Regions from separate parts of the Homo sapiens genome. Here region 2 is linked to region 1. The links are contacts of gene promoters, found by promoter capture Hi-C in human tissues and cell types (Jung and others, 2019). All regions are on one chromosome and are shown on one strand. The core of a region is centred on a gene start or on the middle of the fragment in contact, and the rest is flanking DNA. Distances in the headings are between cores, read along the strand shown. Region 1 holds the start of C15orf62 (chromosome 15 open reading frame 62). Region 2 overlaps RAD51 (RAD51 recombinase).

Region 1 (4,995 bases), core at 863-3,362:
ATCTTAAAAAAAAAAAAAATTTATTGGTGACGTTGAAGAAAAGGGCTGAGGGGTGGATGGCTGGAGCTGGGGCTACGTAGGCGGCCCCTCCTGGTCTTCCTGCTGCATCCGTGCGATCAGCTGTTGCCGCTCGGCCGCCTGGCGCATGCGCATCATGACGAGGCTCTCGTAGTCCCTCTCTGACAGCACTGAGCCCTGTCGGACAGGGCAGGGACAGGGAGGGGTCAGGGACAGCAGGGCACAGCCTCACAGACTCCGAGTACGGTGCCGAGGCAGTGCTGCGTTCTAAGAGTCTCGGAGGGAGGACGGCAGAGGAAGGGAAGGAACCCGGAGCATCCTTTTGGAATCCTGGCTCGCCTGTGTCCCCCAGAACACGCCACCTTTGGCCTCCAGGCCGGCTTCTACCCAGCCAGCTCCCCCTCCCTTTCCCCAGGCCGCGTCAGCTCCGGTCCATCTGTTTCTCAGGAATCACCTGCGGGCCCTCTAAGCCAGGCCCTCGTCTCCCTTCATTTCCTCTGGGCCCTTTACCCTTCACCCCTTTCCCTCTACCCCGTAGCTTCTGCCTCTTAGGTTCCCAAGGAAGGGAAGTTGTCTGAGGAGCAGGGATGCACTTGGCTCTGCTGGGCACTGACCCTGGCACTCTCTATGCCCGGTGCCCTGTGGTCTGGCTCTTGCTGAGGATGCAGAAGGGAGCCCTACCCGAGGCAGCCCGGAATGCCCCACCCTCGAAGGGGAAAAAGGCAAGCATGAGGCCAGCGTGCCTCTAAAACTACACACCAGGGCTCCTGGAGGGCAGGGCCCATAATCAAAAGAATAATAAACAACCATCTGAATGGGCCAAGGCTGTAGGGTGGAGAAGCAGCTCTACAGCGGGACCTAAGCTGCCAACCCACGCCCTGATAAGGTCTGCGGTGGGAATTAAACCTTTTCCTCCCTCGGTGCCGCTTAGGCTGTGTGATGATCATGTGGTCCCAACAGCTTCTCAGAGAAGTGTGAAGCACACCTGAGTTGGCACAGAAGTGAGCTAGGCCAGGGATTGCAAGATGCGGTGGCCTGCCCGTAGCAGAGAGCTGTGGGGCCCTGATCCGCGGTACCCCGCATGGGGACGCTGTCACAGAGCAAGGCAGGAGGAAAATGTGGTGGTCAGTGACCCGGGGAATAGGAAGGGAGCAGCTAGGGTTGAGATGCCAGGCCCTGGCCAGCAGGTTTGGAGTAAGGGGTGTAGAGAAACAGGAAGTGTTACTCAGCCTGGGTTCCCCTGTTCCTCCCGATGGCTGCACCCCTCCCCTCTCCCCGGCTGCAGCAGTCCCAGCTAGGCCGGACTGCTAAGCCTGGCCCAGAGCACGGCTGACAATTCACGGCAGCCTCCCTGGCCCAGCCTCCTGCAAGAGAAGGAGGACCCCAGAGGAAGCCCGGTAGCCAGAGGGGAAGGGCTGGAGCACAGCCAGGTAGGAGGCAACACGGCCCGGCCTTCAGCAGCCGCTCTCCTGGCAGGAGCCCTCTAGGGTAAAACAAGGGAGGACAAGGAAATAGCAGCCAGGCTGATGGCAGGCCAAGAGGAGGCCACATCTCCCATCCCCAGGTTAATGCTGCTCTGCCAAGAAAACTTGGAGCCACCCTTGGCGGGCCCCCAGCCCAACCCTGGGCAGCAGAGCCCGCCCATCACAGGCATGGCGCTGCTCCCCATTAACACACCCTCTGCCCCCCTTCCTGTTCCTGCTCGTGAGGGCCTGACAGCGGGGCTGAGTCACCCATACCAGCTACAGGTCTCTTCCTTCCCCAACAATCGTTCCACACGCCTGCCTTTCAATTAACTCCCACCCGCCCCGAACTCTTCCTACCCAGACACTGTGGGCAGGGAGCCAGGCGCACCTGCTGGGGGCCCAGGGTGGTGGGGCTGTGATCAGAAAGGAAGCCGCGTGGTGACACATAAAGCAGGGCTGCCCCCACACGAGTCCCCAGAGGAATCTTAAGCTCCCCATTGCCCTGGGGTGTTGGTCCCAGCTGCCCCATCCCTGCACGCGGATGCTGCAATTACCCAAGAGCACGAAACCTGGCTTCCCACCTGACTGAGTCAGCTGAGAACAAAAACACATCTCCACCGCCACAAACAGCCAGGCCACTCATCAGAGTCCGGGAGCCACTGGCAGAGAGGGCACGGCCCCACACTGCCCCAGAGACATATAGGAGCCAGGCAAACACCAGGGCGAGTGAGCTCGGGCCATCTGCTGCCTGCCTGTGGAAGGAGCGCTCGCCAGCCTCACCCAGCCCGAGAAGGTCCACCTCTGCCTCCGCCGGAGCTGCCCTCATTCTGGCTCCAGTAAGTGCTGCTTCTTCCTCCTGGGTTTTTTTCCACTACCCTATTCAGTAACCAGGCCACTCCTGTCCCTGTGGGAAACTCTTGCTGCCAGGAACTCCCAGCTGTCTGCTCTCCTGGGCAAAAAAGTTCCTTCTTCCTGAGCCCTCCTCTCACCATCCAAGATGTGGTCAAAGGTCTGTGCTGAGTGGAAACCCTGAGGCCTCTGCTCCTAGGGGAGCCTCCCCAGCTGCTGGCACTCACTGCCCCAGCAGGGACCACATGCACCCTGGCTGCTCCTGAACACCTGTCTGCTGGCTCCCCTGGGCCCCATGGAGACCTGGCGGAAAGGCTCCTTCCGCAACGCCTCCTTCTTCAAGCAGCTGAGCCTGGGGCGGCCACGGCGGCTCCGGCGACAGAGTAGTGTGCTTAGCCAGGCCAGCACAGCAGGTGGGGACCACGAGGAGTACAGCAACCGAGAAGTCATCCGGGAGCTACAAGGGAGGCCAGATGGCCGGCGCCTGCCACTGTGGGGGGACGAGCAGCCCCGGGCCACCCTGCTGGCCCCACCCAAGCCCCCACGCCTCTACCGAGAGAGCTCAAGCTGCCCCAACATCCTGGAGCCCCCACCTGCCTACACAGCAGCCTACTCTGCCACCCTGCCATCGGCGCTCTCTCTGTCGAGTGCCCTCCACCAGCACTCAGAGAAGGGCCTTGTGGACACTCCCTGCTTCCAGAGGACACCTACCCCAGACCTCAGTGATCCCTTCCTCTCCTTCAAAGTGGACCTGGGGATTTCACTTCTTGAGGAAGTTCTGCAGATGCTAAGGGAGCAGTTTCCTAGCGAGCCCAGCTTCTAAATGGGGTGAGGGTGGGCAAAGCCGGGGTGACTGGAAGATCCAGAGGCTGGGGATTAAGGAAAGGACAGGGACAGGACTCCAGGCCCATCGCTGGAGGGTTCAGGCAGGCAGAGCTTCTTCATCCTGGGGGAGGATTCCAGGATAGGAATCCAGGGCTCTGCCTGCTCTCTGGGTCCTGGACAGTCCTTCCAGGCACCCCAGAGTGGAGGGACAGAGGCAATCTGGAAATGTTGGGGGGGCGGCCCTTCCTGGCAGGACCCTGAAGAAAGCTGGCTATGCCGGGAAAGGGAGGCTGTGCCGGGAAAGGGAGGCTCTGTGCGGCACTACAGGAACCAGGTAGAGGCTGGCAGAGCCAGAAGGTGGCACGGGGTCAGATCAGGGAGTGGGAGGACACAGACTGAGCAGAAGAGATGAGTGCCCCATGCCAGCCTCTTTGGAAGCCACTGTCAACAGAGAGAGGTCACAGGACAAGCTTGGGTAAAGGCAGTCCAACCCAGGCAGAAGAGGAAAGTGGGAAGGCCCAGGAAGAAAGGGGAGAAGGCCTGACCCTGTCTAATCTGGTGGCCACTCACTGCATGACACTGAATTGAAATAAATAAAATTAACAGTTCAGTTCCTCAGCTGCACCGTTATTCCAGATTCCACATTCCAAATGCCCGGTGGCCACACATGATTAATGGCTACCACACTGGTCAGTGCAGAATGGACGTAAACATCGCTGCACAAAGTTCTAATGGACAGCGCTGTCTAGACCATGGCCTGGAGCCACCAGCAAAGGGGAGGCGCATACAGGGGCTGGCCACATAGGAAGAGATAGGTAGAGATAGAGTATAACTCAGGAAAAAGACCAGGCAAATCCTTAGCAGAAATGAGGACGTGGCTCAGTCTGCCAACACAGCTACCCGGAGCAATCCCTGGTGAAGGAAGGCAGCTCTAGAGAATGCCAGCCACAGGCACGCGCACGGCTTGCAAAGGGGTACTTTGGGGAATTCCCAGAATTACTAGTGATGGGAGCCCTGGCAGGTTTCCTTCCTCGAAGAGAGGAGAACTGGATCCAGGGATGGGCATTCAACAGCGAAGCGGCACAGCTGGTTTCCAGAACCGTCTCCCGGGATTAGACAGTTCTGCCGCCTGAACCCTCCGACGATGGGCCTGCCAACCAGGCCAAGCCCACTGGGTCAAAGCCACAGGCTGTGCTACGGCCCCACCCCATGGCCTCACCAGAACACAGAAACCAGAGCCCAGCAGCACTGGCTGGGCCATGTGTTGGTGGCCCCCCGGGACTCGCTAAGAGTAGCAAAGGGGAGAGGGAAGCTCTGACACACACCATTTCTACGACCTAAATCAGTGGCCTCCCTCTTTCCTCCTCTTGTGTATAGGTACCGAGCTGTGGATACAGGAGAGAATGAATAAAATTCTAACACAATCTATGGAGTGTTATCTGGGGCTGTGAAATGCTGGGACTTGAAGGTGGGAATGAGGTCTCTAAAGCAGGGCCCTGAGTCAGGCCCAGGCCAGTTTGTTTCCCTCCATCCAGGATCTGGGACACACTTGCAGAAAGCTGCTTTCCAGTCACCCCAGTCAAGTGGAGGGGCAGGCAACGGAGCAGGCTGGCGTGGGTAAAGTAATGAGAGCAGCCTCCTGCCAGCCTGCTGAGGGGCTGTGGACACACCAGACAGGCCCTGGGCCACTGCAGAGAAGGGAAGAACCAGGTTGCTAGATCTTGCCCCCAAAGCAATCTGTTCCACCAAGGTGGGGACAGGTGTGGCCAGGAGCCCCACAGCCCTAGCCTTTGTATCCAGGCCAAAAGACACCAGGGCCATGGTTGCAGGTTGGGGG
Region 2 (4,956 bases), core at 2,114-4,613, 58 kb before region 1:
GAACTGGGAAGACCCAGATCTGTCATACGCTAGCTGTCACCTGCCAGGTGAGCTGTTGGGGCTATAGCTAATCAAATAAGCAAGCATTACTTCATTCCTGCTATTTGCAAGCATCTGTTAGGATGGCCATAAAAGGTACTTTCTCTGTCCTCAAGAATCTTATAGCTGTTAATAGTTAGAAGATAGACTCCTACTTCAAAATCCTTCCATGTCATAGAAACTTCCAAATCATTGATCTCCTATCAGATACGTTAATTTCAAATACTTTTGCTACCAGGCCTTTTCCTGGCTTTACTTGCTACTTTTTTTTTTTTTTTTTTTTTTTGAGGCAGAATCTCGCTGTGTCGCCCAGGCTGAAGTACAGTGGTGTGATCTCAGCTCACTGCAACCTCCTCTCTGGTTCAAGTGATTCTCCTTCATCAACCTCCCGAGTACCTGGGATTACAGGCGCCCACCAGCATGCCCGGCTAATTTTTGTGTTTTTAGTAGAGAGGGGGTTTCACCATGTTGGCCAGGCTCCTCTTGAACTCCTGATCTCAAGTGATCCACCCACCTTGGCCTCCCAAGTGCTGGAATTATAGGCGTAAGCCACTGCGCCCAGCCCTCCATCTTCTTCATTAGTCTAGATTTTATGATTCATCATTAAAGTAATTCTCTTGCAGATAGCCTCAGTTTACATACCCACTTGAAGAGATGCCAACCTTAGATGAAACTCATCTATCTTCTCAGTGTCTGTACCCAAATAGCTGATTATACTGGAGAAAAATCGTATCATACAGCTGACTGACTTCACTTTAAATTCAAGATGACAGGCCAGGCACGGTGGCTCACGCCTGTAATCCCAGTACTTTGGGAGGCCGAGGCGGGTGGATCACTTGAGATCAAGAGTTTGGCTGGGCGCGGTGACTCACGCCTGTAATCCCAGCACTTTGGGAGGCCGAGGTGGGCGGATCACAAGGTCAGGAGATTGAGACCATCCTGGCTAACACAGTGAAACCCCATCTCTACTAAAAATACAAAAAATTAGTTGGGCGTGGTGGCGGGTGCCTGTAGTCCCAGCTACTTGGGAGGCTGAGGCAGGAGAATGGCGTGAACCCGGGAGGCACAGCTTGCAGTGAGCCGAGATTGCGCCACTGCACTCCAGCCTGGGCGACAGAGCGAGACTCTGTCTCAAAAAAAAAAAAAAAAAAAAAAAAAAAAAGAAGAAGAAAAAAAAAAGATCAGGAGTTCAAGACCAGCCTGGCCAACATGGTGAAACCCTGTCTCTACTAAAAATACAAAAATTAGCTGGGCGTGTTGGCACGTGCCTGTAATCCCAGTTACTTGGGAGACTGAGGCAGGAGAATCGCTTGAACCCGGGGGGCAGAGGTTGCAGGGAGCTGAGATCGCACCATTGCATTCCAGCCTGGTCAAAGAAGCGAGACTCTGTCTCAAAAAAAAAAAAAAAAAAAAAAAGAATGAAAAAAGGAAAAAAATTCAAGATGACAAAACTTTAGATTAACATTCAAAACTTCTTGGCAGTCTACTTTCTCCATTTAGGTGTACTTTCCCACTGAGTTAGACAGGCATCTCATATCTCATACTTCGTCTTCTGTTATCAGAACTTTATGCTCCTCTTCAACTCTCATTCTTAGCCAAAAACCTAACCTGCTCTTTGCATCAAATCTACATTTGTGCCCATCTTTTCTTATCTCAGGTTACAATTGAGAAAGTGTCCCTTTTCTTCTCAAAGGCCCATTCTATCAATATGATTTGGTTACCATCTCCTGCCACCTTCTCAAGGACTCTACTCCTTCCATTTTCTCTTGTACCTCTCTATGAGATTATCCTCATCAGTATACAAATATGTCTAGTGTCTCCTCCATTAGGAAAAAACCTTCCCTGGACCCCTTCAGTTTCTTTTTCCTTTACTTATGCTCCTATTGGTGGGAAGATTTGGAAATAGACACAGTAGGTTAAATAATTGCCCAATACATTGTATTTAAGTAGCAAATACTGGACTCAAACCAGACTTCAGAGATGATGTTCTTAAAACTTCATAAGAGGCCAGCATGGTGTTTCATGCCTGTAATCCCAGTACTTTGGGAAGCCAAAGTGGGAGGATTGCTTGAGACCAGGAATTTGAGACCAGCCTGGGCAACATAGTGAGACCCTGTTTCTGAGATGCCATTTCTAAAAACAAACAAACAAAAACAGACAATTAAAAATATTAGCCCAGCATGATGATGTGTACCTGTGGTCCTAGCTACTCAGGAGGCTGAGGTGGTAGAATCTCTTGAGCCCAAGAGGTCGAGGCTCCAGTGACTGGGATCGTGCCACTGCATGTTTTCTGCTGTATTGCTAGTGCCTAAGGCAGTGTTTGGCTCTCAGTAAACAATAAATGCTTGAATGAGTGGAGATAATAGATGTCCAAAAACATGCCTGATATATAAAATGAATGTCACAGAGGAAATGGGTTAGCTGTTTAAGGAATAGAAAGGGGTAATTTCACCCTAGAGTGATCATGGAATACTTTATGGAGAAAAGATTTTGGACCAGACTTCTGAAGAATGCTAAATTTGGGAAGGAAGGAAATTAAAAGCATTTAACTGTATAGAATGGGATGAACAGAGGATGGGAAGGCATAAGTTAGAAGGAAAAGACAATAAATAAGCAAGGTCATTTAACTGGTTTAGAGTTTGTGTAGAAAAGTTGTAGGAGATGACCCTTAAAAAGATACATCAAACTGGGCATGATAGCTCACACCTGTAATCCCAGCACTTTGGGAGGCCACGGTGGGTGGATCGCTTGAGCTCAGGAGTTTGAGACCAGCCTGGGCAACATGGCAAGACCCTATCTCTACAAATAATATAAAAATTAGCCAGACGTGGGCTGTGCCTGTAGTGGCAGCTACTTGGGAGGTGGAGGCGGGAGAATCGCTTGAGCCCAGGAGGCCAAGGTTGCCATGAGCCAAGATTGTACCACTGCTCTCCAGCCTGGGCAACAGAGCAAGATTTTGTCTCCATCTCAAAAAAAAAAAAAAAATTAAGATCCTATTTCAGAAGGTTAAGAAGTTTAAACTTGATTTTATGAAGAGTAAGCATTAGCTGGTCAGGAAACTAAGATAGTGACAATAAAGAGAAGTAGGGAAAAGATGTTGTAAAGGGCAGCGCTTGATGACTGACAATAAAAAATACACCTCAGCCCAACAATGTATTACAGTAACTTAGTAAACCTAAAAAGTGTTTGAGAGGGGAAGACAGTTTTGTTGGAAACATGAGTACAGGTTTAGAGATGACAGGTTTGAGGTGACAAACCCCGAGTGAAAATTTCTAGCTGTATTGAGAGATGTGGAACTAAGTCACACAGAGAAGTAAAAATGGAATCTGGAAACGAAAGATCCATGAGAAAGGAAGGGAGTAGGATATAGAAGAGAAAGCTAACAAACTTTCATCTTTTCTGCAACTTCAGGCAGTGTAATGGGGAGCCGTTTTTCCTTGTCTAAGTGAGTCTTAATGTTCTCTGGCTTTAAGGATGTGCTGCATAAGTGGCCAGTCCACAAAGTATCCTTGAACCTGGCCCATGCCCATGGACCAACTCTTCTGTTATAATCTTTTGAAGCTTTATTATAATTTTAGTTATTTTGAAAAACATGGCATTATTTTAATCTAGATAGATTATACCCACTTCTGCCATGGGCACAACTTACTGTTGGAGATCAAAACAACTGAAACAAAATCTGCCTTATATCAGTGTTACAGAAGAGGCTTCCTAGTGTTTTTCTATCCTCGGGACTCAACTCTGTTGAGTTTTTTTTTCTTTTCTTTTCTTTTTTTTTTTTTTTTTTTGAGAAAGAGTCTTGCTCTGTTGCCCAGGCTGTAGTGCAGTGGTGTGATCTTGGCTTGCTGCAACCTCTGCCTCCCAGGTTCAAGCCATTCTCCTGCCTCAGCCTCCCGAATAGCTGGGATTACAGGCATGACGGCCACCACGTCCAGCTAATTTTTGTATTTTTAGTAGAGACGAGGTTTCACCATGTTGGCCAGGCTGGTCTCAAACTCCTGACCTCAAGTTAATCTGCCCGCCTTGGCCTCCCAAAGTGCTGGGATTACAGGAGTGAGCCACCGTGCCTGGCCCAAGTTTATTTAAATTTAACATCAAGTAACCTAGCTTGATAGCCTCCCATTTTTCTTATTTTCCTTTTTTTTTTTTTTTTTATTTGAGACGGAGTCTCTGTCGCCTAGGCAGGAGTGCAGTGGCGCAATCTTGGCTCACTGCAACCTCCATCTCCTGGGTTCAAGCAGTTCTCCAGCCTCAGCCTCCCAAACTGGGATTACAGGTGCCTGCCACCCAACACAGCTAATTTTTTGTATTTTTAGTAGAGACAAGGTCTTGCTGTGTTGGCCAGGCTGGTCTTGAACTCCTGACCTCAGGTGATCCACCCGCCTCAGCCTCCCAAAGTGCTGGGATTACAGGTGTGAGCCACCATGCCCGGCTTTTTGTTGTCATTTTAATTGTTTATTGCTCCACTGATATTTTCTTTGCAGACCAAAATGTTACAATTTTTTTTTTTTTTTTTGAGGCGGAGTCTCATTCTGTCGCCTGGGCTGGAGTGCAGTGGTGCCATCTCTGCTCACTGCAAGCTCCGCCTCCTGGGTTCACGCCATTTTCCTGCCTCAGCCTCCCGAGTAGCTGGGACTACAGGCGCCCGCCACCACGCCTGGCTAATTTTTTGTATTTTTAGTAGAGACAGGTTTTCACCGTATTAGCCAGGATGGTCTCGATCTCCTGACCTTGTGATCCGCCCACCTTGGTCTCTCAAAATGCTGGGATTACAGGTGTGAGCCACCGTGCCTGGCTGGCTGCCATATGTCTTATGAGACAGCCAAGCTAGCATGTCAGTATCGAGTAGACCTAATCCATTGTTAACTCTCCTCAGAAATAAATTCTTTTTTTTTTTTTTTTTTGAGATTGGGTCTC

What was found. Contacts are between HindIII fragments. The study calls those that stand out against the background at their distance.
Region 2: a fragment that was not itself captured here is called in contact with the fragment with the promoter of C15orf62 in region 1 in 2 of the 25 tissues and cell types used here (lymphoblastoid cells and spleen).

Annotation. Positions count from the first base shown.
Region 1 is chr15:40,767,868-40,772,862 of GRCh38, forward strand. It overlaps C15orf62 (chromosome 15 open reading frame 62), which reads left to right and starts at 2,113. Exons shown (of 1, transcript NM_001130448.3): 1 at 2,113-4,582. The coding sequence starts at 2,629. The coding sequence ends at 3,156. DNAJC17 (DnaJ heat shock protein family (Hsp40) member C17) reads right to left here. Exons shown (of 11, transcript NM_018163.3): 11 at 1-195. The coding sequence ends at 73. RefSeq lists enhancers at 774-1,392, 2,011-2,629, 2,583-2,672, 2,630-3,246. The HindIII fragment of the contact is 9,899 bases long and covers 1-4,995 here.
Region 2 is chr15:40,709,070-40,714,025 of GRCh38, forward strand. It overlaps RAD51 (RAD51 recombinase), which reads left to right. Exons shown (of 10, transcript NM_002875.5): 5 at 1-47. Among named protein-coding and RNA genes, the nearest start is that of RAD51, 16 kb to the left of the region's middle. The HindIII fragment of the contact is 9,054 bases long and covers 1-4,956 here.